Regions from separate parts of the Homo sapiens genome. Here all the other regions are linked to region 3. Evidence: promoter capture Hi-C in 16 types of primary human blood cells and fetal thymus (Javierre and others, 2016). All regions are on one chromosome and are shown on one strand. The core of a region is centred on a gene start or on the middle of the fragment in contact, and the rest is flanking DNA. Distances in the headings are between cores, read along the strand shown.

The links. Contacts are between HindIII fragments. The CHiCAGO score rates a contact against its expected background, and 5 or more counts as called.
Region 1: a fragment that was not itself captured here is called in contact with the fragment with the promoter of LINC01949 in region 3 in 3 of 17 cell types (M0 macrophages, M1 macrophages and M2 macrophages); the score reaches 10.7 in M0 macrophages.
Region 2: a fragment that was not itself captured here is called in contact with the fragment with the promoter of LINC01949 in region 3 in 11 of 17 cell types (M0 macrophages, M1 macrophages, M2 macrophages and 8 more); the score reaches 27.6 in M0 macrophages.
Region 4: a fragment that was not itself captured here is called in contact with the fragment with the promoter of LINC01949 in region 3 in 6 of 17 cell types (M0 macrophages, M2 macrophages, M1 macrophages and 3 more); the score reaches 9.5 in M0 macrophages.
Region 5: a fragment that was not itself captured here is called in contact with the fragment with the promoter of LINC01949 in region 3 in 3 of 17 cell types (M2 macrophages, M1 macrophages and M0 macrophages); the score reaches 8.3 in M2 macrophages.
Region 6: a fragment that was not itself captured here is called in contact with the fragment with the promoter of LINC01949 in region 3 in 3 of 17 cell types (M0 macrophages, activated CD4 T cells and M1 macrophages); the score reaches 6.7 in M0 macrophages.
Region 7: a contact is called between a fragment that was not itself captured here and the fragment with the promoter of LINC01949 in region 3, in 2 of 17 cell types (neutrophils and activated CD4 T cells). The highest score is 5.3, in neutrophils.

What each region holds. Positions count from the first base shown.
Region 1 is chr5:87,029,523-87,033,284 of GRCh38, reverse strand. No RefSeq gene overlaps it. Among named protein-coding and RNA genes, the nearest start is that of MIR4280, 84 kb to the left of the region's middle. The HindIII fragment of the contact is 3,962 bases long and covers 1-3,472 here.
Region 2 is chr5:87,065,127-87,069,051 of GRCh38, reverse strand. The region is part of intron 1 of MIR4280HG (MIR4280 host gene); the gene reads left to right. LOC105379065 (a long non-coding RNA gene) reads left to right here. Exons shown (of 3, transcript XR_948540.3): 3 at 2,272-2,551. Among named protein-coding and RNA genes, the nearest start is that of MIR4280, 48 kb to the left of the region's middle. The HindIII fragment of the contact is 2,066 bases long and covers 1,303-3,368 here.
Region 3 is chr5:87,237,277-87,240,989 of GRCh38, reverse strand. It overlaps LINC01949 (long intergenic non-protein coding RNA 1949), which reads left to right and starts at 1,789. Exons shown (of 3, transcript NR_130914.1): 1 at 1,789-1,924; 2 at 2,009-2,175. All of the region lies in intron 2 of LOC101929380 (a long non-coding RNA gene), which reads right to left. The HindIII fragment of the contact is 4,009 bases long and covers 1-2,031 here.
Region 4 is chr5:86,993,470-86,996,874 of GRCh38, reverse strand. No RefSeq gene overlaps it. Among named protein-coding and RNA genes, the nearest start is that of MIR4280, 120 kb to the left of the region's middle. The HindIII fragment of the contact is 6,669 bases long and covers 1-3,405 here.
Region 5 is chr5:87,047,445-87,051,079 of GRCh38, reverse strand. It overlaps MIR4280HG (MIR4280 host gene), which reads left to right. Exons shown (of 2, transcript NR_186582.1): 2 at 116-2,174. LOC645261 (PP565) reads left to right here. Exons shown (of 3, transcript NR_188227.1): 3 at 116-2,174. Among named protein-coding and RNA genes, the nearest start is that of MIR4280, 66 kb to the left of the region's middle. The HindIII fragment of the contact is 5,407 bases long and covers 1-3,635 here.
Region 6 is chr5:87,387,119-87,390,688 of GRCh38, reverse strand. It overlaps RASA1 (RAS p21 protein activator 1), which reads right to left. Exons shown (of 25, transcript NM_002890.3): 24 at 1,162-1,296. It also overlaps a transcript of CCNH not described here. Among named protein-coding and RNA genes, the nearest start is that of CCNH, 24 kb to the left of the region's middle. The HindIII fragment of the contact is 2,768 bases long and covers 1-2,644 here.
Region 7 is chr5:87,430,640-87,434,264 of GRCh38, reverse strand. The region is part of intron 1 of LOC105379066 (a long non-coding RNA gene); the gene reads right to left. Among named protein-coding and RNA genes, the nearest start is that of CCNH, 20 kb to the right of the region's middle. The HindIII fragment of the contact is 6,327 bases long and covers 1-3,625 here.

The sequences.
Region 1 (3,762 bases), core at 242-2,741, 210 kb after region 3:
TTAAGGCAACAGCTTTAGTATTGAATAGAACAATACCTCACATCTCGATACTAATGTTGAATGTAAATGGCCTAAATGCTTCACTTAAAAGATACAGAATGGATAAATATCAACCTACCAAGTATCTGCTGTCTTCAAGAGACTCACCTAAAACATAAGCACTCACATAAACTTAAGGTATAGGAGTAGAAAAAGATATTCCATGCAAATGGAAACCAAGCAAGCAGGAATAGCTATTCTTTTATTCTTATATCAAACAAAACAGACTTTAAAGCAACAACAGAAAAAAAATAAAAAATAAAAAAAGACAAAGAGGGACATTATATAATAATAAAAGGATTAGTCCAACAGGAAAATATCACAATCCTAAATGTATATGTACCTAACACTGGCACTCCCAAATTTATAAAACAATTGCTACTAGACCTAGGAAATCAGATAGATGACAACACAGTAATAGTGGGGGACTTCAGTACTCTACTGACAGCACTAGACAGGTGATCAAGACATAAAGTCAGCAAAGAAACAATGGACTTAAACTATGCCCTACAACATACGGACTTAACAGATATTTACAGAACATTCTATCCAACAACTGCAGAATATACATTCTTTTCTTCAGCACATGGAACATTCTCCAAGATAAACCATATGATAGGTCACAAAACAAGTCTCAGTAAATTTAAGAAAATCAAAATTATATCAAGTATCCTCTCAGACCATAGTGGAAAAAACCTGGAAATTAACTCCAAAAGGAACCCTTAAAACTATACAAATACATGGAAATTAAATAATTTGCTCTTGAATGATCTTTGGGTCAACAATGAAATCAAGGTGGAAATTAAAAAATTCTTTGAGTTGAACAAATAGTGATACAATGTATCAAAACCTCTGGGATACAGCAAAAGCTGTGCTAAGAGGAAAGTTTATAGCATTAAATGCCCACATCATGGAGTCTGGAACAGTGCAAACAGACAATCTTAACCTCAAGCTCACACCTCAGGGAACTATAGAAATAAGAACAAACCAAACCCAAACCCAGCAGAATAGAAGAAATAACAAAGACCAGAGCAGAACTAAATGAAATGGAAACAAATACAAAAGACAAATGAAACAAAAAGCTGTTTCTTTGGAAAGATAAGCAAAATTGATACACCAATAGTGAGATTAACCAAGAAAAGAAGAGAGAAGATCCAAGAAAACTCAATTAGAAATGAAAAGGGAGATACTACAACTGATACCACAGAAATGCAAAAGACTATTCAAGGTTGCTATAAATACTTTTACACACAAAACTAGAGAATCTAGAGGAGACGGATAAATTTCTGGAAATATACAACCCTCCTAGGTTAAATCAGGAAGAAATAGAAGCTCTGAACAGACCAATAACAAGTAGCATGACTGAAACAATAATTTAAAAATTGCCAACAAAAAATGTCCAGGACCAGATGGATTCATGGCTGAGTTCTATCCAACATTCAAAGAAGAAACGGTACCAATCTTACTGAAACTACTTCAAAAGATAGAGAACAAGGCAATCCTCCCTAAATAATTCTATGAAGTCAGTATCACGTTAATACCAAAACCAGGAAAGGACATAACAAAAAAGAAAACTACAGACCAATACCGTGATGAATATAGATCCAAAAATCCTCAAGAAAATACTAGCTAACTTAACCCAACAGCATATTAAAAAGATAATATACCATGATCAAGTGGGTTCTATACCAGGGATCAGGGAAGGATTAACAATAAATGTGATACATCAGATAAACATAATTAAAAACAAAAATCATATGATCATCTCAATAGATGCACAAAAAGCATTTGAGAAAATCTAGCACCCTTTATGATTGAAAGCCTCAGCAAAATTGGCATAGAAGGGACATAGCTCAAGATCATAAAAGCCATCTATGAAAAACCCATGGCCAATATTATATGGAATGGGGAAATGTTGAAAGCATTTGCCCTGAGAACTGGGACAAGACAAGGATACCCACTTTTGCCACTTGTATTCAACACAGTACTGGAAGTCCTAGACAGAGCATCAGACAAGAAGAAATAAAGTTCATCCAAATCAGTAAAAAGGAAGCCAAGCTGTTGCTTTTTAGTGATGATATGATCGTATACCTAGAAATCTCTACTCAATGAAAAAGCTCCCACATCTGATAAATGAATTCAGCAAAGTATCAGGATACAAAATCAATGTAAAAAAATCAGTAGCACGGCTATGCACCAACAACAACCAAGCTGAGAAAAAAATCAAGAACTCAACCCCCTTTTACAACAGCTGCAAAACAAACAAGCAAACAAAAACAACTTAGAAGAAGCCAACTGTGAAGGGGAGGGGCCGATATGGCCAAGTAGAAACAGCTCCTGTCTGCAGCTCCCAAGGAGAGGACCGTAAACAGCGAGTGAATTCTGCCTTTCTGAGATACCGGGATTCTCTCATTGGGACTGACTAGGTGGTTGGTGCAACCCACAGAGTGCAAGAAAAAGCAGGGTAGGGTGATGGTTTACTCAGGAGCTTCACGGGGCAAAGGGACCTCACTCCCGCAGTGAGGGATTGTGCTACCCACCTGGAGAACTATGCTTTTCCCACAGAGTTTTTCAACCCATGGATCAGGAGATTCCCTCATGTTCCTACACTACCAGGTCCCTGGGCCCCAAGCACAAAGCTGTGGAGATCCATGGCAGCTGCTAGGGTAGGCAGCCACTTGGGGCAGGCATTGAGCTGCATTTTTTGCATACTTTGGCAGCTCCTGGAACTCTAGTGAGGCAGGAGATCCATCCACTCCTGTGGAAAGGGGGCTGAAGCCAGGGAACCAAGCAGACTCACTTAGTGGGTCCCACTCCCACAGAACCCTGCAAGCTAAGACCCACTGGCTTGGAATCTCCACTGGCCAGCACAGCAGCCTGGAGTCGGCCCAAGATGACAGAGTTCCTGAGGGGAGGGGTGACTGCCATTACTGTGGATCTAGTCAGTAGCTTTCCCCTGCCAGTGCTAGGGAGACTGTGAGGTTTGGACTGGGCGGAATTTCCCACAGCACAGTACAGTGGCTATGGCAAATCATGGCCAGACTGCTTCTTTAAGTAGGAACCAGATCCATCTCTCCTCACTGGGTAGGGCCTCTCTGCAGGAATTCCAGCAACTCCAGTCAGAGTTTTATTAGACAGAACTCCCATCTCCCTGGGTCAGAGGACCTGGGGGGAGGGGCGGCCATGGTCTCAGATTCAGTAGACTTAATCGTTCCTGCCTGCTGGCTCTGAAGAGTCCAGACAATCTGGACGAGGGGAATTCCCCCCGCGGCAGTGAACCTACACCGTTAAGGGGCAGCCAGACTGCCTCCTTAAGTGGGTCCCTGATACTGTGCCTCCTGACTGTGTGAGATCTCCCAAGAGACGTCACCAGACACTTCATATAGGAGAGTTCTGGCTGCCATCAGGTCAGTGCCCCCCTTGGGATGAAGCTTCCAGATGAAGGAACAAGCAGCAATCTTTGCTGTTCTGCAGCCTCCACCAGTGATACCCAGGCAAACAGGGTTTGGGGTGGACCTTCAGCAAACTGCAGCAGACCTGCAGAAGAGGGGCCTGTTAAAAGAAAAGCAAACAGAAAGCAATGACAACAACAACACCAAGAAAAAAGATGCCACAAAAACCGCATCCAAAGGTCAATGCCTCAAAGATCAAAGGTAGATAAATCCACAAAGATGAGGAAAACCAGTTCAAAAACCCTGAAAATTCCAAAATCCAGAATGCCTC
Region 2 (3,925 bases), core at 1,086-3,585, 170 kb after region 3:
GGTATCACCTTTATTGTTTGGCTTCTATTTTTTGAACTAAATTAATATTATTGAGTTTAGTTGTTTTAAAATAAATTAATTTTTAAATTAAATCAGTTGAATAGGCAATACAATGTTTCAGATTTTTTTTTTTTTTGAGACAGAGTCTCACTCTGTTGCCCAGGTTGGAGTGCAGTGGCATGATCTCGACTCACTGCAAGCTCTGCCTCCTGGGTTCAGGCCATTCTCCTGCCTCAGTCTCCCAAGTAGCTGGGACTACAGGCGCCCACCACCACGCCTGGCTAATGTTTTGTATTTTCAGTAGAGATGGAGTTTCACCGTGTTAGCCAGGATGGTCTTGATCTTGTGACCTCATGATCCGCCTGCCTCGGCCTCCCAAAGTGCTGGGATTACAGGTGTGAGCCACCACACCCGGCCTAAAAAATTTTTAAAAATGTAAATATGTGTAGTCTGCAAAGCCTCCCTTTCCTCATTATATTTTTCCTCATTTACCTCCTGTCCCTTTTTCACACATTGGTAACCACTGTAATTAGCTCATTTTGAGTTCTCCAAGAGTTTCTTCAGGCAAATACAAACCAATAAATGATATATTCTTTCCCTGCCTAGCACAAAACTCTGTCTCCTACCCATTTGTTCCACAAGTTGCTTTGTTAAATTAACAATACAGGTCCCATATACAATATTATTATTAACTAGAGCCATCATGCTGTATAGTAGGCCTTTAGAATTTATTCATCCTATACAACTGGAACTTTGTGCCCCTTGACAAGGGCCTCCCCATTCCCCCCACTTCTCCATCCCTGGTAACCACCATTCAACTCTCTGTTTCTATAAATTCAACTTTTTAAGATTCCACCTATAAGTGAGATCATGCAGCATTTTTTTGTGTGGGCTTATTTCACTTAGCGTAATATTCCACAGGTTCATCCACGTTGTTGCAAATGGCAGGCTATCCTTCTTTTTTAAGGCTGAATAATATTCCACGTGTGTGTGTGTATAATAATTTATTCATATCTTGGTAATCGTGAATAATGCTGCAGTGCACAACATAATAGTTAATACTGTATTGTACACTTGAAATTTGCTAACAGAGTAGATCTTAAGTGTTCTTACCACTCTCCCACACACAGAGAAAAGACAACTATACTAAAAGATGGATATATTAATTAGCTTGACTGTAGTAATCAGCTCAGTATGTATATCAAAACACCACATTGTACATCTTAATTTTCATTAAAAAACCCCAAACAAAAAACATACAATGCATTTCACAGATCTTTATGTATCAGTATATGGAAAGCTTCCTCTTTCTTTTTTTACAGCAGCGTCGGATGCTGTTGTACAGATATAATTTTTCTAATCGGATCCCTGTTGATAATTTAAAATAGTCCAGTTTTTTGCTCTCACAGTGCTGCAATGCATATTGTTTATTTTCATATATGTAAGTTTAATATACATTGTCAGAAATAGAACTGCTGAATAAACAGTTGTATATATTTGTAATTTAGAAAAAGTTTTCAAATTGCCTTCCATAGGCCTCGTGCCAATTTATATTCTCATCAGCAATAACTGAAAGTATCTGTTTTTCCATTGCCTTGTCAATGGGCTGTTGTCAAAATTTAAGGGTTTTTGTTAATCTGTTAGGTGAAACATAGCTTATTCTAAATTAGTATTTCTTCTATTATCCAATTAAAGTTTTTTGTATTTCATTTTCTATCAACAGTTCTATCATTATCAACTGATAATGTATTTTGACAGTTGTCTTTTGTGTTGCTATATATTCTTGTGGCTTTCCAGTATTGTTTTTATATTATAAAGATTGGGGCTGGGAAAGGTGGCTCACGCCTGTAATCCCAGCCCTTTGGGAGGCTGAGGCTGGTGGATGACCTAAGGTCAGGAGTTCGAGATCAGCCTGGCCAACATGGTGAAATCCTGTCTCTACTAAAAATACAGAAATCAGCCAGGTGTGGTAGCGCCTATAATCCCAGCTACTTAGGAGGTTGAGACAGGAGAATGGCTTGAACAGCTACAGTGAGCTAACATCGCACCAGCCTGGGCAACAAGAGGGAAACTCTGTCTCAAAAAAAAAAAAAAAAAAAAAAAAAGATTGGCCTGTGATATACATTACAGATATTATCCTTAGTTTGTCATTTGCCTTTTATTTTTCTTATGTGCTTTGCTATACTATAGGAATCAAATATATACTATAAAAATTAAATATTTTCTTTTCCTTTCTCTTTCTCCTCTCTGTTTTCTTCTCCTTCTTTGTAGACAATATAGAACATCTTTCTGACCTTGAGGTCAGGAAGTCCTCCTCGACAAGACACAAAAAAGAAAAATCACAAAGGAAAAGAATGACAACTTGACTCCATCAAAATTAAAAACAGGTGCACATCAGAATATACCATATATACAATTAAAAGATAAGTAATGATATAGAAGAAACTAATTGCCTCACACAAAGCAAACTTGGACTGCTTTCTAGAAAGTAAAAAGGAATCCTAAAATAATCAATATGAAAAAGACAAACAACCAAATAAAACAAAATAAAAAAGCAGACAAAGATTCAAACAGGCAAATTCACAAAAGAGGGAATTCAAATGGTCAATAAACACATTAAAATATATTTAAACTGCAGTAACCAGAGAATAGCAAATGTAAAACAAGGTGTCATATTTCTACTCATTTGATTTGCAATTATTAAAAGTGTTGAAATTATCAATTGCTGGGGCATCAAATATCCTCATAGATGGCCAATGATGGAAGTATGTACACATTATTAAGTTTTGTTTCTAGCAGTGTTTGGTAAGAATTGAAACTTTTGCTCTATTTGAAATTTATCTTGGTATATGGTGTGAAGTATGGATTTGATGTAAACATTTTTTGGATGTTTTCCTAGCTGCTTTAACACCATTTATTAAACAGTACCTCTTTTTCATGCTGACTTGAGATGACATCTTTGCCATATACTAAATTCACATATGTCTTTGGGTCAGCTTCTGAATTTACTAATCTGTTCATCTATCTGTCTACTCGTGTCACTACCTCCTGTTTTAATTATTACAGCTTCACAATATGATTTAATGAATGTATTATTATTTGATTTTTTTTTCTCCTTAGTCACATTTTTCTTCTGTGTTCTTTTTGTTTTTGATATTTTTTCTTTATATTGCCTTGTATTGATTTTGTACAGGCATGCCTCATTTTATTGTGCTTTGCTTTACTGTGTTTTGCAGATATTGCATTTTTTTCCAGATTGAAGGTTTGTGGCAACCCTGCATCAAGCAAGTCTATAAGCATCATTTTTCCAACAGTATGTGCTCACTTATTGTCTGGGTGACATTTTAGTAATTTGCACATTTCAAGCTTTTTCATTATTTGTATATCTGTTATGGTGATCTGTGATCAGTAATCTTTGATATTACTATTATATTTCAAATGTTTTGGGACACCATGAACTGGACCCACCTTAACAGAACTTAATCTATAAATGTTCTCTATAGAACTTAATCTATAAAAGTTCTTTATCAAACGAATCTATAAACGTGCATGTTCTGATAGTTCCACTAATCAGCTGTTTCCCATCTCTCTCTCTCTCCTCAGGCCTCCCTATTCCCTGAGACACAACAATATTAAATTAGGCCAATTAATAATGCCACAATGGCCTCTAAGAGTTTGAGTGAAATGAAGAGTTGTCTATCTATCTATCTATCTATCTATCTATCTATCTATCTATCTATCTATAATCCATCTATTTATTTTTGAGACAGATTCTTGCTCTGTCGCCCAGGCTGGAGTGCGGTGGCACTATCTCGGCTCACTGCAACCTCCACCTCCTGGGTTCAAGCAATTTTCCTGCCTCAGCTTCCCTAGTAGCTGAGATTACAGGTGCCCAACACTATGCCCAGCTTTTTTTTTTTTTTGT
Region 3 (3,713 bases), core at 540-3,039:
AGTCAAGGTGAGTGTGGGTATATGTATGAGTGTGCCCTGTGTTGGGATGGTGTCATGGCCAGGGTTGCTTCCCACCTTGTATCCTGAACTGCTGAATGGGCTTTGGCCTCCTGTAACCTGAACTGGAGTAAGTGGGTTGGAAAATGAAAGAATAAATGAATACAAATTATTATAAGATAAAATATAAAGTATTTGATAATCATACAAATGCAAAATAATAAGAAATGTTGTATGAAAGTGCTTAGAGAGTCTGCCTTATTGAATATTGTTTGTTTTTGAACTGTGTGTTGGTAGGAGGTACTCCTGACAATTTTCACTTTACAAACATTTATTTCTTGATTTAACCTACCACCAGGATGACGGCTGTCACTCACTGATTCACCAAAAATTGGACAAATTGCTTACTTATTTTTGTTGATTTTTCTTAAATGTATGTATAGCTTACATTTATATCAATATTCAACATTAGAAGTGTTTCAAGTCTTCACTTAGAAATTTGTTGATGTTTTTGTGATACAAATATGCCATAGGAACTAATTCTTGTTTATATTAATTAGCCTATAGTAAAACTGGTTTTGTTACATGGCATCTCACTTGAAGTTGAAGTTTCCAAGACCCTATCAACAACGTTGAGAACTTACTGTCATAGGTTGAAAAACTGTACACCAGGAACCGGACCAAAATAGATCTGACAGTAATATTGATATTAGAAAACAACTTTAAGTCTAATAATGATTTTTCTCTAAAGAGGTTGATTACTTCATGATAGAAGGATCATGTCACCATGATGACACAGACTGTTAGTGCACATCAATATCCATTTTGTCCTCTTCTTTTTTGGCATACAACCAAAACTTACATAGGCTTTTTATCATTTTACTGGGCCTATGTAACTGAGTTTTAGCCAGTGGAATATGTCCAAGTGACATTTGCCACTTCTAGGTCTGGCACATTAACACTTGATGTATTACATTTCAGACCCTCTTATCATTCTGCAGTGTGTTTGGCGATCTGTTGTTTAAGATCTATATGCACTGGTTACTGTTGCTTGCCTTCCATTCCTACCCTTACTAATCAGATTCCTATTATAGCTACTTCTGTCCTTGATTCATTTTGTATATTAGATGTGTGTGTGTTCATGTGCATGCATGCACCCTCACATGTAGGTGTATATGGGAGTGGTGGTAAAGACAGGATATTTCTTCAGTTCATGGGATTTTATTTCAGGAGAATTCAAACATTCACGTATTGGAGAAGATGACACATTTCTTGAATGTCTTGGGCTTTGAGCTGAATGCACTAACTAGAAGGGACTTCAGATTGTCCTCCTTCGGGGGAGGTAAGTATATTCTTCATATACAGGTAAGAGTGAAATGATAGAAGAATGTTCCTCCTCTCCTTTTCTTCCTGGACAACAGATCAAATATTTCTCAGATCTTTTACAGCTGAATTGGAGTCACATGGACAGGTATGATCTTAAAATATAAAAAATTATTTTAAAATTACATGCTAAAATTTTATAAAAATAAATGCTAAAACTAACTTAAACGGAAGCATTTGATTAAAAAATTTATCCAAAAAAGTTTGAATTTTATATGAAACAGGATAGAAGATGAAAAAGCTAAAGAAATAAAATATAAATAAATTATGGCTGGGGACAGTGGCTCACACCTGTAATCCCAGCACTTTGGGAGGCTGAGGTGGGAGGACTGATTGAGGCTAGGAGTTTGAGACCTGTTATTTGAGGCACATGGGAAGGAAAGTTTTCTTTGAGATATTCCACATTTTATAATATTCTTCAAGAGATTTACAGAGTTCCTTGAGTGAATTGTTGGTTTGTTCTTAATACTGAATTTCCTATTCAAATTTATTTAGAAGTTCATTTCTTACAGTGATCTCATCTCCTATTAAGATATTCTTCAAGGTAGGTTCTTGGCCAGTTTCTCAATGACAGATTTTTAAAAATATTGTTAATCTTTTTATTAATATGAGAACATAATTGTTCCAGATCTGGAGGCCATCCTTTAAGCTTCTTGCAACAGTCTGGGAGCAAAGAGTTTACTCGCCACTGGGTAGTGGGCCATGGACACCCCAGTCTCCACCAGAAGTTCGGGATTGCAAAATGGGACTCTGGCAGCAAATTTCAAACTGTATGCCAGACCTGGCCCTTTGCAGGTGGGCATCACTAAAAATTTAAATTACCAAAATTGACTCAAGAGTAAATCTATGTCTGAGGAGAAAGCCTTTGGAAAAATTGAATTAGTAAGCAAAAACCTACCCAAAATAAATAACAGTAAGTCTAGAAAATTTTACACAGGGATTACCAACAAACATTCAAAGCACAGAAAAATCTCTTTAGCACAAAATGCTACAAAATACAGAAAAAGAGGAAAATTCTGTAGTTTCTCTCATGAAGTTAATATATTCTAGTTAGCTGAACTAGAAAAATAAGAGAAAGAAAAATTATAGGTTAATCTTCCTTATGAGTACATGCAAGTATCATAAGATGTTGACAAATTGAATCAAGCATTTTAAAAAATGCATTATGATCAAATATGATTTATCCTAGAAATAATGTATGAGAGTTATAAAATTCCCATTAACATTAGGAACAAGCATTAATACTTATTATCTCCACCAATAATCATCATTGCTCTGGAGTTCCTAACCAATGAAATAAGAAAGAAATAACCAGTTATATGGATTAGGGAAGATCAAATATTGATTATTTGAATATTTTTTTTTATAGAAAATCCAATAATTGTACAGCTGAAGAACTGGAATAGGAGAGTTAAGCAAAGTTTCTACATACAAGAGCAAAGTGGTCAAATCAATAGGTTATCTGTAGGCCAGTGCTAATTACATTGACATGGTGGCCTTAAAATTTTTACATGCAATTCATAAATCAGTTTCACTGATATTACTTTACCAGATATTGATATTCTAATGTTGTAATTATACAACTGTATTATTGTGTCAGAAATAAAATTAATAGACCAACAAAACAAAACTCAGAACAGATTCACATATTTGATAACTTGGTGTATGACAAGTGTGACATTAAAATTCAGGAGTAAAATAAAAAAATAACAAATAATGCCGGGATAATTGGTTAGTCACATGGGAAAAAGTCAGAAAGATCTCTGCCTCACTCTATTTACATGGAATATACTTCAGATGAAAGAAACTTAAATACAAAGAGCAAAACTTTAAGACTTTTAGAAAAAGATAGGAGAATTTATGACTTCCAGTAAGGAAAGCTTTCTTAAGCTAGATGCAATGGCATAAACGACAAAATGCATTTTTTTTATAACATTAAATAAAACATGTGTTCCGTAAAAGACACCAAAATACAATTAAGAGATAAGTTACAGTGTCTTAGTCCATTCTGGCTGTATAAAAAAATACCATAGACTGAGTGGCTTAAACAACATTTATTTCTCATAGTTTCTGGAGGCTGAGCAGTCCCAGTCAAAGAGAGCCCACTTTCTAGTTTATAGACCACCATCTTCTCACTATGTCCTCACATGGCAGAAAAACAAGATGGCTCTCTGGAGTACTTTTTACAAGAGCACTAATCCTATTTATGAGGGATTCACCCTCATGATATAATCACTTTCCAATGGCCTCAGATCCAAATACTATCACTTTGGAAGGCAGGATGGGGGTGGGAGGATTGGATTTCAACATAGGAGTTTTTTGGGGACACAAAC
Region 4 (3,405 bases), core at 387-2,886, 240 kb after region 3:
AACCTATTGGATTGGAGAAAATATTTGCAAATTATTCATCTGACAAGGGGTGAATATCCAGATTATACAAGGAACTCAAACAACTAAACAAACAAACAAACAAACAAACAAAAACTAATAATTCCAATAGAAACTGGTCAAAGGACATAAATAGAAGATTCTCAAAAGAGGGCATATATGTGGCTAACAGTTATATTAAAAAAGTACTCAATGTCACTAATCATCAGAAAAATGCGAATCAAACCACGATAGGATACTATCTTACTCCTTTTAGAATGGCTATTAATAAAAACACAAAAATAGCAGGTGCTCGTGAGGATGCAGAGAAAAGAGAAACTACTCCTGTACACTGCTGGTTGGAATGTAAATTAGTGCAGGTACTATGGAGAACAGTATGGAGATTTCTCAAAAAACTAAAAATAGAATTACAATATGATCTAGCATTCCCACTACTGGGCATTTATTCAAAGGGAAGGAAATAAATTATATTAAAGCAATACTTGCACCCCTATGTTTATTGCAGCACTAGTCACAATAACAAAGATATGGAATCAACCTGTGTCCATCAATGGATGAATGAATAAAGAAAATGGACATATATATAGAATGAAATACTATTCAATCATAAAAAAGAATGAAATCATTTTTGTAGCAACCTGGATGGAATTGGAGGTCATTATGTGAAGTGATATAAGCCAGGTACAGAAAGACAAATTTTACATGTTCTTACTCATATGTGGAAGCTAAAGGAGTTGACCTCATGGAGTTAGAGAGTAGATTGATAGACTAGAGGCTAGGCAGGTTGTGTGTGTGTTTGTGGGTAGGATGGATGAAGAGAGGTTGGTTAATGGGTATGAATGTAGAGTTAAACAGAAGGAATAAACTCCAATCTTAGGAGAGTAGAGTTACTGTAGTTAACAACAATGTATTGTATATTTCAAAAGAGCTAGAAGAGAAAACTTTAAATATTCCCAACACATATAAATTGTAAATACTTGGGGTGATGGATACTCTAAATATTCTAATTTGATCATTACGTGTTCTATGACTTAATAAAATGCCACATGTAGCGCATAAAAATGAACAAATATTATATATCAATAAAAAGAATAGATATAAGAACCTCTATAAATCAATAAGAAAAACACAGATGACTTAATTGAAAAACGGACAAGATATGAAGTGACTTCATGAATAAGGATATCCCTATGCTGGGGAAACCTATAAATAGATGCTTAAATTCATAATTTATAAAAGAAAGGTGAATTAAATCCAGCATATGGTATAATAATACTTCACACTCATTAGAATGATTAAAAAAGGAAATTTTGGTAAAGGCACAGAGAAACTGGAAGTCTCTCATACGCTGCTGATGGAACTGTAAATTAGTCCAATAACTCTGTAATAAACAAATACTCTGGTAACAAGTAATTTAACTTCTAGGTTTATTTAATAAGAACTAACAGAAATCAATGCTAAGAAATTCACTCAAAACTACACAATTAGATAAAAACTGAACAATCTGCTCCTGAATGACTTCTGGGAAAATAATGAAATTAAGGCAGAAATCAAGAAATTCTTTGAGACTAATGAGAACAAAGATAAAACATTCCAAAATCTCTGGGACACAGCCAAAGCAGCGTTAAGAGAGAAGTTTATAGCACTACACATCCACATCAAAAAGTTAGAAAGATATTACGTTAACAACTTAATATCATAATTAGAGGAACTACAGAAACAAAAGCAAACCAATCCCACAGCTAGCAGAAGACAAGAAATAACCAAAATTAGAGCTGAACTGAAGGAAACTGAGACATGAAAAACCATACAAAAGATCAATGAATCCAGGAAATGGTTCTTTGAAATAATTAATAAGATAAACTACTAGCTAGACTAATAAAGAAAGAAGAGGGAAATCTAAATAAATACAATCATAAATGACAAAGGGGACATTACCACTGACCCTACAGAAATACAAAGAACCCTTAGAGACTATTAGGAACACCTCTATGCACACAAGCTCAAACACCTAGAAGAAACTGATAAATGTTTGGATACATACAACATCCCAAGAATGAACCAAGAAGAGATTAAATCCCTGAACAAATCAATAATGAGTTCTATAATTCAATCAGTAACAAGCCTACCAACCAGAAAAAGCCTAGGACCAGATTGATTCATAGCCAAATACTACCAGATGTATAAGGAAGAGCTGGTACCATTCCTTCTGAAACTATTCCAAAAAATTGAGGAGGGGGACTCCTGCCTAAGTCATTCTATGAGGACAGCGTAATCCTGTTACCAAAGCCTGACAGAGACACAACAACAACCAAAAGAAAACTTCAGGCCAATATCCTTGATGAACGCAGATGCAAAAATCTCTACAAAATACTAGCAAACTGATTCCAGCAGCTCATCAAAAAGTTAATCCATCATAATCAACTAGGCTTTATCCCTGGGATGCAAGATTGGTTCAACATATGCAAATCAGTAAATGTGATTTTTCACATAAACAGAACTAAAAACAAAAACCACATGATCATCTTGATAGATGCAGAAAAGGCTTTCAATAAAAATTCAATATCCCTTCATGTTAAAGGCCCTCAACAAACTAGGCATTGAAGGAACATACCTCAAAATAATAAGAGCCATCTATGACAAATCCACATCCAACATCACACTGAATGGCAAAAAGCTGGAAGCATTTTCCTTAAAGCCAGAACAAGACAAGGATGCCCTCTCTCACCACTCCTATTCAACATAGTACTGGATGTCCTAGACAGAGCAATCAGGCAGAAGAAAAAAATAAAAGGCATCCAGATAGGAAGAGAAGAAGACAAACTATCCTTGTTTGCAGATGATATGATTCTATACCTAGAAAACCCCATAGTATCTGCCCAAGAGCTCCTTGACCTGATAAACAACTTCAGCAAAATTTCAGGATACAAAGTCAATGTACAAAAATCAGTAGCATTCCTATACAATAATAACATCCAAGCTGAGAGCCAAATCAAGAACTCAACCCCATTCACGATAGCTTCAAAAAGAATAGAATACCTAGGAAACAGCTAACCAAAGAGGTGAAAGACCTCTACAACAAGAATTACAAAACACTGCTCAAATAAATCAAAGAATACACAAATAAAAAACATCTCATGCTCATGGTTAGGAAGAATCAATATTGTTAAAACGGCCATACTGCCCAAAGCAACATACAGATTCAATGCTATTCCTATCAAACTACCAATGGTCTTCTTCATGGAGCTAGAAAAAACTATTTTAAAATTCACATGGAACCAAAAAAGAGCCTGAATAGCAAAGGCAATCCTAAGTAAAAAAAAAACCAAAGCAGGAGGCATTACATTACCCAGATGCAAACTATCCTACAGGGCTACAGTAACCAAA
Region 5 (3,635 bases), core at 702-3,201, 190 kb after region 3:
TGCTGTTTGGAGCCTTTGGCAGGCCTCCATCGGTGAATTACAGGGGAGGCCTCTAAAATTTTGGAGCAAGGCCCTGCCATCTTCTGCAGATAACTACTCTCCTTTTGACACACAGCTATTGGTCTGTTACTGGGCTTTGGTGGAAACCGAATGTTTGACTATGGATCATCAAGTCACCATGCAACCTGAACTACCTATCATGAACTGGGTGCTTTCTGACCTATCTAGCCATAAAGTGGGTCATGCACAGCAGCATTCCATCATCAAATGAAAGTATACTTGATCGGGCTTGAGAAGGTCCTGAAGGCACAAATAAGTTACATGAAGAAGTGGCTCAAATGCCCATGGTCTCCACTCCTGCCACCCTGCCTCCTCTCCCCTAGCCTGCACCAGTGGCTTCATGGGGAGTTCCCTATGATTAGTTGACAGAGGAAGAGAAGACTAAGGCCTGGTTCACAGATGATTCTGCATGATATGCAGGCACTACCTGAAAGTAGACCACTGCATTACAACCCTTTTCTAGGACATCCCTGAAGGACAGCAGTGAAGGGAAATCTTCCCAGTGGGCAGAATTTCGAGCAGTGCACCTGGTTGTGTACTTTGCCTGGAAGGAGAAATGTCCAGATGTGCGATTATATACTGATTCATTGGCTGTAGCCAGTGGTTTGGCTGTATGGTCAGGGACTTGGAAGAAGTATGATTGGAAAATTGGTGACAAAGAAATTTGGGGAAGAGGTAAGTGGATGGACCTTTCTGAGTGATTGAAAACTGAAGATATTTGTATCTCATGTGAGTGCTCACCAATGGGTGACCTTGGCGGAGGAGGATTTCAATAATCAAGTGGATAGGATGACCTGTTCTGTGGACATCACTCAGCCTCTTTCCCCAGCCACCTCTCTTATTCCCCAGTGGACCCATGAACTATGTGGTCATGGTGGCAAGGATGGAGGTTACACATGGGCTCAGCAACATGGACTTCCACTCACCAAGGCTGACCTGGCTACCGCCACTGCTGAGTGCCCAATTTGCCAGCAGCGGATACCAACACTGAACCCTCGATATGGCGCCATTCCTCAGAGTGATCAGCCAGCTACCTGGTGGCAGGTTGATTATATTGGATCTCTTCCATCATAGCAAGGGCAGAGGTTTGTCCTCACTGGAACAGACACTTACTCTGGATATGGGTTTGCCTATCCTGCATGCAATGTTTCTGCCAAGACTCCATCCATGGATTCATGGAATGCATTATCTGTTGTGGGAAGTCAGGGACCCTGAATAGAGGGACTGGGTGAAGCCACAGCAGAAGAACATAAATTGTGAAGATTTCATGGACATTTATTAATTCCCTAAATTAATACTTTTATAATTTCTTATGCCTGTCTTTACTGCAGTCTCTGAACATAAATTGTGAAGATTTCATGGACATTTCTGACTTCTCAATCAATACTCTTATAATTTCCTATGCCTGTCTTTACTTTAATCTCTTAATCCCATCATCTTTGTAAAGTAAGGATGTATGTCACCTCAGGACCCTGTGATGATTATGTTATCTGTATAAGTTGTTTGTAAAACATGCGTGTTTGAACAATATGAAATCTGGGCATCCTAAAAGAACAGGATAACAGTGATTTTCAGGGAACAAGGGAAATAACCATAAAGTCTGACTGCCTGCGGGGCGGGGCGGGGCAGAACAGAGTCATATTTCTCTTCTTGCAAAAGCGAATAAGAGAAATATCACTGAATTCTTTTTCTCAGCAAGGAACAGCCCTGGGAAAAGAATGCACTCCCACTGACAGGCCCCTAAAATGGCCGCTCTGGGAGTGTCTGTCTTATGCAGTTGTAGATAAGGGATGAAATGTACCCTGGTCTCCTACAGCACCCCCAGGCTTGTTAGGATTGGGAAATTCCAGCCTGGCGAAATTCTAGTCAGACTGGTTCTCTGCTCTTGAACCCTGTTTCCTGTTAAGATGTTTATCAATGACAATGCATGCACAGTGGGACAGGGTACCTTATCAGTAATTCTAATTTTGCCCTGGCCTTCTGACCTTGCCCTGCCCATTTGCCTTGTGATATTTTGTTGCCCTTGAAGCATGTGATTTCTGTGACCCACACCCTATTCGTACACCCCTCCCCTTTTGAAATCCATAATAAAAACTTGCTGGTTTTGTGGCTCAGGGGGCATCACAGAATCTGCCGACATGTGACATCTCCCCCGGACACTCAGCTTTAAAATTTCTCTCTTTTGTACTCTTTCCCTTTATTTCTCAGACCAGCTGACACTTAGGGAAAATAGAAAAGAACCTATGTTGAAATATTGGGGGCTGGTTCCCCCGATACTTATCCACTATCATGGTATTCCACACAGCATTGCCTCTGACCAAGACACTCACTTTACAGCTAAAGAAGTGCAGCAGTGGGCTCATGCTCATGGAATTCACTGGTTTTACCATGTTCCTCATCATCCTGAAACAGCTAGATTGACAGAACAGTGGAATGGCCTTTTGAAGTCACAATTACAGTGCCAACAGTGTACAGTGACATTACTTTGCAGGGCTGGGGCAAAGTTCTCCAGAAGGCCGTGTATGCTCTGAATTAGTGTCCAGTATATGGTACTGTTTCTCCCATAGACAGGATTCATGGGTCCAGGAATCAAGGGCTGCAAGTGGAAGTGGCACCACTCACCATCACCCCTAGTGTTCCAATAGCAAAATTTTTGTTTCATGTTCCTGTGACATTACATTCTGCTGGCCTATAGGTCTTAGTTCCAGATGGAGGAATAGTGCCACCAGGAGACAAAACAATGATTCCATTAAACTGGTAGTTAAAGATTGCCACCTGGACACTTTGGGATCCTCCTACCTTTAAGTCAACAGGCTAAAAAGGGAGTTACACTGTTGGCTGGGGTGACTGACCCAGATCATCAAGATGAAATCAGTCTACTGCTCCAAAACAGAGGTAAGGAAGAGTATACATGGAATACAGGAGATCCATTAGGGCATCTCTTAGTATTACCATGCCCTGTGTTTAAGGTCAACGGGAAACTACAATAACTCAATCCAGGAAGGACTACAAATGGTCCAGACCCCTCAGGAATGAAGGTTTGGGTCACTATACCAGGAAAAAAATATGACCTGCTGAGGTGCTTGCTGAAGGCAAAGGGAATGCAGAATGGGTAGTAGAAGAAGATAGTTATCAATACCTGCTAGAACCACATGACCAGCTGCAGAAATGAGGACTGTAACTGTCATGAGTATTTCCTCCTTTTGTTAAAATCATGTTTGTAGATGTATACAGCTGTACTAAGAAAATATCTTCATTTTATTTCCTTTGACTTCATCATGTGACATAAGATTTATTGATTTCATTTCAGAATTGAAGTATTGTTAACTTTACATAATAGTATTTGAGTTGGGGGATTGGTGTGTTTCCGGTTGTACTAAAGATAGTTGTATTATGTTAGGCCTAATTATGACCTTATTATTTTCTTTATTTAAAGATTATGTATGATTTCAGGAGATGTGTATGAGATGTGTATGAGTGTCAACTTGATTGGATTGAAGGATGCAAAGTATTGATCCTGGGTGTGTCTGTGAGGGTGTTGTCAAAGGAGATTAACATTTGAGTCAGTGGGCTGG
Region 6 (3,570 bases), core at 11-2,510, 150 kb before region 3:
TACCACAATTCCCCTCAAAACATAAGTCTCTATTATTCAGTCATTGGCTGAGTATTTCTGGTCATAACTAAGAGAATTTTTATACCCTAAAGTGAACAGAAATTTGTTTGTGTTTGGCATGCTCCTATTTTTTAGGCCAGAACTATCACACTATCACATGTTGTCAGAAGCAGTTTATCTCTCTTTTAAAAAAGGCTTTTTTTATTTAATATCTAAGGCAAGTCAAGTCATATTATTAGTTTTGAAAGCTGCGGGGGGAGGGGCGGGGAGAAACAGGACTTGAGGATTCTAGAATCTCAGGTTGTAGAGAACTCAGTCACCAAACTCAATGCTTTAATCCCTTCTACAAAATCCCTGCCAAATGGTTAGCCAGTGCGGTGACAGCATTCACTATCTCCTGAAACTACATTAGAAACTAGTCAAAACTGTCCCTGTGGTCACTTCCTCTCAGTAGCCCTTATGTCAGCTGAGGACATTCAAAGTGTAACTCATTTTGTTCTATATCTCCAATATCTTAATTGACCTGGTATTAAGTCCCTTCAAATTCTGGTCTGGTCTTTGAATACATCCTTATCTGTATCTGTTTGGTGCAGATGGCAGATAGAAGTCTATCAATGTAGTCTACTGTTTCTCAAAGTGTAGGCCATGGTTCACTTGCATCGGAATACCTATAAATTCCTCTAAGAGTTTGTTAGACGTGCAGCTTTCAAGGCCACACTTCAGAACCTCTGGATGTGAAATTTGACAAACATCCCAAATAATAATCATTTGTTTCACAGTTTGAGAATCACTTTGGCCATGCACTATATCTGTATGTGACAGAGAAAAGACAAGACAGAAACTGAAAGAAAAAAAAATAAAATCAATATTGACTTACTAACTAGCCATTTTCACACATGCTACCAAAGTGTTATTACACTGTTTTCCAGTAGAATTAACATTCAGACTCAAGAGCAAAACCTGATGTTTTTCAGTATTAAATGTACATCATTTTAGTCGGGGCCCGTTATTTCTGTCTGCTGAGATCTTTTGTAATATGATGCAGAGTCTCAAAAATTTAATGTAACAAGATAAAAATGTTAACCAGAATTCAGCTATTTATTAACTCTCTAAGTGTTATCTTTGAAACATCATTGTTAATGAAGGCTGGCGAAAGCCTACCTGCTGTGCACCACGCTCATTACTGAGCGTTCGAAGTTCATCTGAATGAGCCACGCAAATCTCATGCAATGCTGCTAAATCACGGGACAGGTCCGTTCTAGAATGCTCTGTAGTGTCCGGAAGTTCAGGTACATTCTTTAAGGGAATCGTAAAATTGCATTTAGAAATACAAATCTTCTTTTTTTTTGTTTTTTTTGAGACAGAGTTTCGCTCTTGTTGCCCAGGCTGAAATGCAATGGCATGATCTCGGCTCACTGCAACCTCCGCCTCCCGGGTTCAAGCGATTCTCCTGCCTCAGCCTCCCAAGTAGCTGGGATTACAGGCACCTGCCACCATGCCCAGCTAATTTTTTGTTACAAATACAAATCTTTCTCTGTAGTCTCATGTGAAAAGATTCTAATTGGGTATATTAGATAATTTTTTTAATACTCAAATTTCTCTTAAAATTCTAAAGATTCTTATTGAAATATAATATTCAGTATTAATGATGGTAAAATATAGACTTTGTAACCTTTGTATTCACATGAAAGCCAGATTCCATTTTTTTCCGTAGCATGACAGATGTGTACAATATTATTGCTATTCTAAAAATAAGGGGTGGGGGGTGTGGCTTCCTAACAATTAGCTTTGTATCTGAAAAAATCTAGAACATATGCCAAATAGTGTAGGTTAACTGCTAATCTGGATTAAATGCAGCCTAAACTTAAAATTCCTAGATGAAATTTCATTATTAAGCTCCTGTAGTTTGTCTAAGTTGATAATGCATATAAGTAGGAACTGCACTATGAAAATGCAATGAGAACCTGTCAGGTTTGCAATTATCTGTGGACTATGCTCAGAATACTTGCTAATGTGTGGGAATAATCAGTGTTAATTATGGTACTTTCAGATAAGGTTCATAAAGTAACTTAGTCACTATAATGAAAGTTTATAGTATAGGTTGAATATCACCCAAAATGCTTGAGACCAGAAGTGTTTCGGATTTTGGAATATTTGCAGTATACTTGCCAGTTGAGCATCCCCAATCCAAAAATCCAAAATTGGAGATTTTCCAAATAGCATTTCCTGTTGGTGCTCAACAAGTTTTGGATTTTTTAGCATTTCAGATTTCAGATTAGGGATACTCAACCTGTACTTTATTATCGACACTAAATGCCAGTGTTATTTTAAGCCTTGGAATAACATTTAACAAGGGCTTGGATTACCAGTAAAATGGTGACAGTATTTGCTTTACATTGCTAAAAACTGCAAAACAATGTTATCTATGGGACAGAGAAACACAGTTACTCAGAATACATTCAGTGATTAAAGGTTTATAGCGATGAAAGACTCCATATTTGCCTTCAGAGAACTGACTCCAGTAGAAAGGACTTTAGAATAAAGTAATCATAGCAACACAGAATTATATATCACAGATACACAGGGGATGCTTAGGAGGTAAAACAAAAGTTATTTTATTCATGTTTGGGGTTCAGCAAAAGCTTCCTGAAGGAGATAATAATTGAGGTGGGTCTTCAAAAATAAATTTGGCTTATTATACAGGTGGTGAAGAAATATGGTAGTATTATATTTGGATTCTAAGCAGTATGAAATCTTAGATTGTGTGGCATAACTTCTCACACAGTTCCTTAAACATTATAGTAAAAATATTTTCCAATGATTGACCAACTATATCCCAGTTCACATATAGAAGCATGATGGACTTTTAGCATTTTTGTCCATTTCACTATAAATTTCACTATAAATATGGAGCTATGCCATAATTTTTCATACACTAGTTTTTATACCTGAGGTTGCAAACTAGTGACTCAACGGCATTCCTGATTTGTTTGCCACAAATTGTGGTGGTCTTTTTAACTGAATCTGAATACATTAAGACAGAACATGGACACCTCAATCTCCAATCCTAGCACTCCCTAATGCCATGCCTTACACCTGGCTCTATTCACATGTACATGCACCTTCCTGGTTTCTCTGTATATGAACTGAATTACTAATAAGTTTAGTTTAAAACTGACTCAGTACCTGAAAATCTGTTCAATCATGAAAATTTAACTTGATTAAGAAAGGCAGGGTCCTAGAAATTATAAAATACCCTCATTCGTAATTTTGTAATCACAATTTATTTTATTAACAAGGCCCAAATGAGGCACAGATATTCACACTGAATGAAGTGTAACACCGAATCCACGTCTTTTATTCCTAGAAAAGAAGACTTTTCAGTCTACTTATTTAACCTGGTCAGAACTGTGTCATCGTCTTGCTTCACGCCCCACATAGTAGCAGCAAAGTAAAAAAGCTAAGGAGGCAACAGAATGTCATGGCAGTCAGATGTGATAGCTTTAAAAGGATATGAAAAGCAAGACAGACCCTAAAAAATGATGGAAGTAGTCTAAAAGCCACAATAAT
Region 7 (3,625 bases), core at 360-2,859, 190 kb before region 3:
CAGTTTCAAGTCATTTCAAGAATACTAAATGATTTTCATTTGGGAAATTCTAGTTTAAAAAAAAACAAACATGTTGATGTAGGTCCAAATGAACTCAATGTAGGTACAAGACTTGACCACATCACACAAGCAGTAAACAGCAAAGTAAGAGTCTGCCTAGTTTCGTCTAACTCCAGAACTCTTGCTGTTCCCCACTACACTGCACTATCCCCTAGCTTTATAATGTCAGCCTGCACACCTAAGCAATCATTATGAACCTATCCCTGGAATCTTGTAGAATGACAGGAAGTCCTGTTGGAACCCTAGGAGCAGGTTATGACAGCATCACTTCTTTTGAAAATGGGGAAAACTGTTCTGCTTATCAGTTACCAACCACATAAGGATACTAATCTTTTTGTTCTTTATTCGGAATTAAGAAAGGGACATGGGGGCATCAAAGCTAACAAGCAGCAAGATTCTTCTGCCTGCATCCCTGAGAAGCTGTGAAATTTAGGTAGTTAAAAGGTGACTGGCAGGAGGATCCAATCCGTTGTGTTCTCTGCATTGACACATATATCATAATGTTGGGTAACAGTACAACGCTGAATGCAGAATATAGATTTCTTGTCATATATCATGTGTAAGAGATGTATTTAATATTCACTATTGAATATTAAAACTATATTCCCTTGAAGCAACATAGGCATCAAGAAAGAAAGAAAAATGACATGTTATCTTTTTTGACATGATAAACATCAAAAAGACTCAGAATAAACATTATCTTAATCATGATAGGTATGCCTGGGGAAAGAACATGGTAGTTGCTGGAAGCACAAGAGCATCAGATGAGTCCAGCAAGCCCAGTTCTGTTCATGACTGTGACATCAAATATATAACCTTTGACGACCTTAAGTCCCTCACCTTAGTTTCCTCATCTATTAAAGCCAGCTATTTACATGGCCTGTATCTACCTATTAGCTTATTGTGAGGAGTAAATAAAATAATGGGGATGATCACAACAAACTTCTATAAAAACAAAAGTTTGTCTAATACTTTGATAGGATAATACATCTATTATATGCAAATTTTACTTAACTACAGAATTATTTTAATTAGCAACTACAGATTTGTTGAGTCATCCATATAAAATTAGAAAATAGAACTATTAAGTATACATATTTAAACAGCAGTGTGGGAAACATTGAAGCACTATTTATTGAGTGTAGTTTCTGGTGTGATTCAATTCTCATCCCAAAGACATAGAATGTCTTTTATTTTCCCAGGTTAAATATAGTATCTTCGGGAATTATTGACATTTAAAAAAAACATTTTCAATTAATATTAAATTCTGAGTGGTGCAATATTTTGAAAGAGGAAAGAGAGCAAAGAATAAACAAATGAAATTGATTTTCAAGTCTAAAAGTTTAAAAACATAAAAAGTAGGAATTAAAATATTAAAATGGTGGTGTCAGATGTTGGATAGGCACAATGTCTTAGTCCATTTAAACTGCTATAACAAAATACCATATACAGGGTATGTTATGAACAACAGAAACTTATTACTCACCGTTCTGTAAGGTGAACAGTTCAAGATCAAGGCATCAGCAGATTCAGTGTCTGATGAGGGCCCCTTCCCTCATAGATGACATCTTCTAGCTGTGTCTTCATGTGGTGGAAGAGGGAAGGAACAAGCCTCATAGTGTCTCTTTTATAAGGACAGTAACCTTTTATCTGGATGCTGAGGAGCCCTCATGACCTAATTGCCTCCCAAAGGGCCCCACCTCCTGATACCATCACGTTGGAGATTAGGTTTCCATCTTTGAATTTTCAGAGGACAAAAGCATTCAGACTATAGTACATAGGCCTGCATATTTCCAGTTCTAGAAGGATCTCACACTTTGGAGTGTTTTTCTCTACATTTTCTGTAGCTTCCTCTATGCCTGGTAGTGGCTAGACCAGCAGTGCCATCCAATCAGGGTTCTCCAAGCTCAGATCATAAAACACAAGGTCTTCATTCTCCATTTCTCCACTAAGGTATTTCTCCAACCAACTTTCCAGGACCTGGGTTCTACCAAATGCCCATGGAACCCTAGGGCTCATGCGGATGGGATTGTCCTGAGACCCCTGCCTGACCTCTAATCCAAGAGAGCAGACTGAAGAGTGGTAACTCCCAATGTCAGCACAGAATTTCTTTTTGTGGGACCACACAAGACTGAGTTTTCAGAATGGAACCAACAAGCAGCAGATGTTGGCCGACTCTCTTATCGATGTAAGACAAGTTCAGGACTCAGAGCTACAAAGAATCTACTGCTAAAACTTGAGCTTGATCTGAGTGTGTGGTCTAGAACATGGGCTCACACTCACCTCTGTTGTGACCACAGTACCACCTTTGATCCAGCACTGAAGAGTATTCTTTACCCTATGTACCCTTGGCCATCCCTGTGGCAGATACCTACCCCTTCTTTAGGTTCCATGCCCCATGTCTGGCAGTTCTCTGGGATTTGGTCATATTATCTACTCTAAGGCCTTTGGATCTATATCTACTCTGGCTATTGATCACTGTGGTAATGCCATGCTTTTGTAAGATGGACTTCCTTACACAAATTGGACCATTCTTTCCCTATCCCATTCCCCTTCCCCTCAAACTCCTCATCTGTTCTCTCCTCTGGTGGCAGTGTATAGAAGGAAGAGAGAGTCAACTTTTAAGAAGATCATGTTTTATGTGTGCAGTGATTATAGCCTAAGGAGTTCAAGAGAAAATATAGTTGGAAGTCATGTTGTTCTATGCTTATGCATTAAAATTCAAAACGAGAAATTTAACATGAATGGAGAATGAATTGTTGTTCACATGTTTCTGCATAGTCTGGGTAAGTTTACATTTCTGTTCATCATCAATAAAACATAGTAACAACATTTAAGAGAGTCTTTGGGGGCCAGTAATCATGGAAAGCACTATGGATGATGCAAAGTCATGAGCAATCATGTAACCAGAATTAAATAAATGGTATTAGGGAACTGCAGAGGCAAGATCTATATTTTTCAATATAAGCAGGTTCCAGCAAGCCATGACCTTATGAGTAATAACAATGTTAATGCCTTTTTCTTTGAGTAAGAGATATAAAATTAGCCAGGAATGGTACATTTTACAATAAAGAAGAGAGGGCTCCTGTACCTGAACAGGAAAAGATGATACCTGGATACTATTAGAAAATGTCATCTGCCATGGGCCTGATCAGGCTTGCATGTTCTTGCTCTGTGTGCCAGATTACTAGCCTTATCCATCCCCTGTTACTGATCAGGGACACATAGGCACTAAGTAGGTCAAAGTGACCACAATAAGACTCCAGGTTTGTAGCAGGAGGGGTCTGAATGATTTGCTACCTGCTACAACATTTTGTAGCTTGCTCAGAGAGTCCTGTACCCTTGGGACCCCTACTTTAATGCAACTCACTGCAAGTACAGGTATCATCTAAGCCCATTTCATCAAGCTCTGATACTTGGCAAGGAGAACCAATGCAAATATGCTGATGCTCATGCTTTTTGCTGTACTGTGAGCAATTAAATCCTTTGCCTCTGACCCAGGAGTCTCCTGTTTTTTTGCCAGTATCCTCGAAATAGTAACAAACTAACTTGTTAGATTGCATTA